2 separate regions of the Homo sapiens genome follow, and region 2 is linked to region 1. Evidence: promoter capture Hi-C in human tissues and cell types (Jung and others, 2019). All regions are on one chromosome and are shown on one strand. The core of a region is centred on a gene start or on the middle of the fragment in contact, and the rest is flanking DNA. Distances in the headings are between cores, read along the strand shown. Region 1 overlaps MAPKBP1 (mitogen-activated protein kinase binding protein 1). Region 2 holds the start of LTK (leukocyte receptor tyrosine kinase).

Evidence for each region. The method cuts DNA at HindIII sites, captures the fragments that hold promoters and counts their contacts. A contact is called where the count stands out against the background at its distance.
Region 2: the fragment with the promoter of LTK here is called in contact with a fragment that was not itself captured in region 1 in 1 of the 25 tissues and cell types used here (mesenchymal stem cells).

What each region holds. Positions count from the first base shown.
Region 1 is chr15:41,790,895-41,793,594 of GRCh38, reverse strand. All of the region lies in intron 2 of MAPKBP1 (mitogen-activated protein kinase binding protein 1), which reads right to left. Among named protein-coding and RNA genes, the nearest start is that of MAPKBP1, 18 kb to the right of the region's middle. The HindIII fragment of the contact is 8,436 bases long and covers 1-2,700 here.
Region 2 is chr15:41,512,382-41,515,081 of GRCh38, reverse strand. LTK (leukocyte receptor tyrosine kinase) reads left to right here and starts at 1,255. Exons shown (of 20, transcript NM_002344.6): 1 at 1,255-1,415; 2 at 1,962-2,105; 3 at 2,204-2,375. The coding sequence starts at 1,373. RefSeq lists a silencer at 1,890-1,969 and an enhancer at 1,676-2,423. The HindIII fragment of the contact is 13,334 bases long and covers 1-2,700 here.

The DNA.
Region 1 (2,700 bases), core at 102-2,601:
ATCAATATTTACTATATTTGAAATCACAATCTGAAACATTAAAAATATTTACTAAATCATTTAGAAATAACAATAAACCCATTACATATTAACATTCTTTTTTTATTTTTATTTATTTTTTTGAGACGGAGTCTCACTGTGTTACCCAGACTGGAGTGCAGTGGCACAATCTTGCCTCACTGCAAGCTCACACTATTCTCCTGCCTCAGCCTCCCGAGTAGCTGGTACTACAGGCACATGCCACCACGTCCGGCTAATTTTTTGTATTTTTAGTAGAGACGGGGTTTCACCGTGTTAGCCAGTATGGTCTCGATCTCCTGACCTCATGATCCACCCATCTCGGCCTCCCAAAGTGCTGGGATTACAGGCGTGAGCGACTGCACCCAGCCCACATATTAGCGTTCTTATTAAATATAACTTTATTTTCCAAAACAAAAATAATTAGTGAGAAGAATGGCACTGTTTTACATTTTTGCAAACCTTTTTCATATCTGGCTTAACAGAAGGGAGCTGGGTTCTCATATCTGCATCTGCATTCAATCTGTCCTGACATTATCTAGTGGAAGTATGCGAAGAAAACCTAGCCTCATTTGGATATGTAGTTGGAAACAGGACATCATGGACCCCCTAAAGGGGTTTTGGGGACTCCAGGCTTCTCAGACCACACTCTGAGAACCAATGACCCACCCCTCTAAATACTACAGCATCTTTCCACATGAGGAAGCAAGCCCACAAGTGAGAGTTCTGGCCTCAAGGATCGCTTGAAGAAAGTGAGTTAGGAAAGAGGCCCTGCGAGAAAATTACTGTCCATAAAGTCTGGGATTCAGCCCAAAGTTCTGACAGGAACTTCAGCTCCAAACCTTCAAGGCCCAAATGCCGATGAAATACAGCCCAGGAGACACACCAGTCCAGGCAACTGTGTCTGGGCAGTGACTTGGGACACAACTGCTGCAGGCAGCTGGCACCCTGACCCATCCATCTACAGCTCTAGGAACACTGCTTCATGCACAAGTGGAAACTCAGAAGGAAGAAGAGAGGACCCACTTGGTTCTCTACAGTGAGCTCCTCCACACCCAGAATGCAGCCTTGAAGCATGGAGAATACCCAAACTGTGACCCAGCTTTTGCTTTGGCAGGTGGACAGTGTTGAGATGGAAGAAAGCGTATACCAACCTGACAGAGGTGTCATCTTTCCCCTGAAGCAAGGCTACTGGAGGCAGAATTACTACAAGTATAATGTGAGGGAGGGCTTGAATACCCACCACTCCCAGTAGGAACTAGGCAGAGCACTATCATATCCTCCAGAGAGAAAGAGGGCCAGCAAAATCATCTCTCACTTTAATAAGATAAAGGGGTAACTTCATACTAGCCTATTCCCAGGAGAGAAAGAAAGAATAAAGCCACGTGTTTAAGTGCTCTTCTGGCTCTCATTAAAGTAGATGGAAAAAACAGGTGGCGTAGAGGCAAGAGACAGGACTGCTCATTCATACTAGATAGAACAGTAGTTTCCAGCCTGCAGATTGCAGTCTTTTTTTTTTTTGAGATGGAGTTTTACTCTTGTTACCCAGGCTAGACTGCAATGGCACGATCTCGGCTGACAGCAACCTCCACCTCCCGGGTTCAAGTGATTCTACTGCCTCAGCCTCCCAAGTAGCTGGGATTACAGGCATGCGCCACCACACCTGGCTAATTTTATATTTTTAGTAGAGACGGGGTTTCTCCATGTTGGTCAGGCTGGTCTCAAACTCCCAACCTCAGACAACACCTATTTTTAGAGCATGGAGAAGATGAGGTACAGGCAGTGAGAAAGAGAGGAGGAGAACCAGGAAGCCAGTGAAGTGGAGAGCTCCCAGAAGGGAGGGGTGATTAATAGTGAGTGCTGAAAGAAATGAAGGAGGCAAGGACAGAACTCTCCAGAGTCCAGAGCCATCCTCAACAGAGGTGGCACAGCATAAGATCCCAAGCGGTCCCAGAGCCCTAAACATACAATCCTAGACACTGGGCAGGGCCTTCGAAGCTTTTCTGCTCTCTCAAGTCCCTGGATCTGATCAGTTCACGAGCTAGAGGACAGGCACTAGCCAATGGAAGCGAGTCCAGGTGGAGCCAAGACAGTGGCACTGTTAGGAAGGGCTTCCTGCTTGGACCCACAACAGAAGTTGGCAGGAAATGCTTTCCCTTTTAGTGTGAGGGACCACTACAGGAAGTCTGCAATGGCACGGGAGTGGCTGCTCCCTTGAGATAGAGAACTAAGAGGCCAGAGTCACAAAAGGCCAGGGTCCCCTAGGATTTGGCTGACCTCATACTGGTAAAGAAACCCCAGCAACTGTGAGGAAAAAGATCTGTTTTTGTTGCTATGTTTTGTTGCCACCAGCTACTTTCTTCCCCCTTTTCCCTTCCCCCACTTCTCAATCCCACTCAATTCAAGTTATAAATACCTGAGTTGTAAGTCATTCCAGCCAAACCATGGACTTGCTGTTTCTATAAACAAGCATGTCAGAGACCTGTCCAAGGCAGAGCACTCTTCGCCTTCCCCTCCCTTCCTGCAGGTTAAGAACTATATTTGTCTCTTGCCCACACACTACACTCTAATCTCACAAAGCAGATTCTCTACCAGATTCTGAGAACTGCCACTTAACGCAAAAGCCACAGAAGAAGCCAAGGCCAGGAGGCTTTGTGCAGAGACTTAGACAGTAGGGCAGGG
Region 2 (2,700 bases), core at 6-2,505, 280 kb after region 1:
AAAATCACTGTTCTGTTTACACCTTGAATTATACTCAGACTTTACCAAGTAGCTAACTACTATAACTTCTCTTTTGAAGTATTTTGTATTAAACATAGGTCTCAGACTTTCAAGTTAGGATTTTTTTTTTTTTTTTTTTTTTGAGATGGGGCTTTGCTCTTGTTGCCCAGGCTGGAGTGCAATGGTGCGATCTCGTCTCTGCAACCTCTGCCTCCCAGGTTCAAGCCATTCTCCTGCCTCAGCCTCCAGAGTAGCTGGGATTACAGGCGTGCGCTACCACGTGTGTCTGATTTTGTATTTTTAGTAGAGACGGGATTTTGCCATGATGGTCTAGCTAGTCTCGAACTCCTGACCTCAGGTGATCTGCCCGCCTCAGCCTCCCAAAGTGCTAGGATTACAGGCATGAACCACCGCACCCGGCAAATGATCATTTAAGCAAATGATCGAAGACTCAAGACACAAAACTACCTGAAGGGAGTGGCTCCCACATTTGTAGGGTACCTTACAGAGCAATTTCCCTTCATATGATTTTGCAGGTGGTGGGGAAACTCTCAGGGCAGTTGTGGCCTGTGCTACATCACCCATTGACCAGAGGTGCCAGTACTAGTGCTCAAGATCAATCGATCGATCGGTCTACCTACCTATCATCTATTGACCTTCAGTGCTACTAAAAACACTCGGATCTTCTAACGTCTGGTCCAGTCTTTCACCCCATCACAGTGAGAGGCTGTGCACAGGGGTAACACAGGCAACGGAATTATATGAGGCAAACACAGAGATCCAGGTTTCTGGGAGTAGCAATGAGGTTCAGCCTTGCAGTCACAAAGGCACCACTAAAAGGCACAAGTAATGGCAGGTAATGAGGCCTTACTTGGAGCAGTTTAGAGTACTTCCCACGTGTGGTGACGCATGCCACACACTCACCACCACCACCACTGCCACAAATGAAGTGCACACTCCACTGCTCCTGTCCTCAGGAACCTGGAAGCCCCCACCTGGTGTCCGAGGTGTGGCTCCCACTTTAAGCGTGGGGCACCTCCTCTCCGGCCTCAAACCTACCGGAGCTCCCAGCAGGCTGCGGCACATCTGACGGCTGGAAACTAGAACCCCTGGGTGGGGACTCCTTAAGGCTCCTCCCGGAAGCGTAGGGACCTCGCTGCCCACACGCCCCTCCCTTTCCTCCTCTGGCGTCCTGGGGTCTGAGGTGGGCGTGGCCAGACCAGCTTTAGGTCCGGGGAGTGTCTCGCCAGCGGCAGCACACCCCTGTAAGTGGTGGCCAGGGCTGCCGTGGCAAAATGAGCTGTCAACTTTAGGTTGACAGGGGTGTGGCCGCGACCGCAAGGGCTTTTGTTGCCGGGTGGACCCAACAGGGATGGGCTGCTGGGGACAGCTGCTGGTGTGGTTCGGAGCCGCGGGTAAGTGCTATCTGGCGGTCAGGGGACCGTCCAGCCTGAGGCACTTTCCTAGGCTTGGGGGTGGCCGGTCAACAGGCCAGGTGTCAGTGGTTCCTCCAGAGGCCTCGAACTCTCACAGCCAAATTTCTCCGGTCCGTGCTTCTGGAGTGCGGGCCGAGAAGCGCCAAGTGCGTGCGAATCCCAGAGTCTGGATCACGCAGCTTGGGAAGGAGGAACATTCTTTGGGGTCTCAGCACCGCCTTGGGGCGGGGCCACCAATCTAAGTTGAGGAAAGCATTGGGGAGGCTGCAGGACCAAATTCATTGCGGCCCCTAAGTTATTCACTGGGAAAGGCGCTCGAGGAGAGAAACTGGCAGACCTATCAGCGCGCACCCGCGGGGCTTCTGCGACCGGAGTCGGGTAGTGGCTTCCAGGCTGAGAGCGCGGCTGGGCCGGGTGACGGGTGTGGCCGCGACCGCAAGGGCAGCTGTTGCGGGGTTCTCTCTTTCTTTCATATCCTATTTCCACCCGCCTTAACGTCCTGCGCCTTCTCCCAACACCTTTCAGGCGCCATTCTCTGCTCTAGCCCGGGGTCCCAGGAGACTTTTCTGCGGTCCTCGCCCCTGCCGCTGGCAAGTCCCAGCCCCCGGGACCCGAAAGTCAGCGCCCCGCCTAGTATCTTGGAGCCAGCCTCCCCGCTGAATTCTCCGGGTGAGCTTTAGACGCCTCCTTCCTCTTTCGCTCACCATACCAGACCCCTCTGGCCCAGCCAGGGGCTCGACGACCCTTGCCTCGCTCCTTGCTCTCAGGCACCGAGGGGTCTTGGCTGTTTTCTACCTGCGGGGCCAGCGGCCGGCATGGGCCCACACAGACACAATGTGACGGGGCGTACGCGGGGACCAGCGTGGTGGTGACCGTGGGGGCCGCCGGGCAGCTGAGAGGCGTGCAGCTGTGGCGCGTGCCGGGCCCTGGCCAGTATCTGTAAGTGCACGGCGGAGGTAGGGTGGACAGTGACCTGCTAGTTGGAGGTTTCACCCTCAGGGTAACGAAGTCCACGTGCGCACCGACTTGCGTCTTGGACTATTCCGCGGGGAGGTCCACCTTGAGTGCCCTTCAAGGTGGCAGTAGTCGCCACCGAGTTAGCCCTTACCCGGAACCTCTTACACCGAGCGGAAGGCCCCCAACCAGGGCGGCGCCAAGGGGTGCTTGAGCCTCCCCACATTTCCACGAACCCTCCTGAAATAAGTGTAATATCTGATTTTTCGGTGTGCAAACCTACCCTTCCCATCCCGTCAGAGTCGATTGC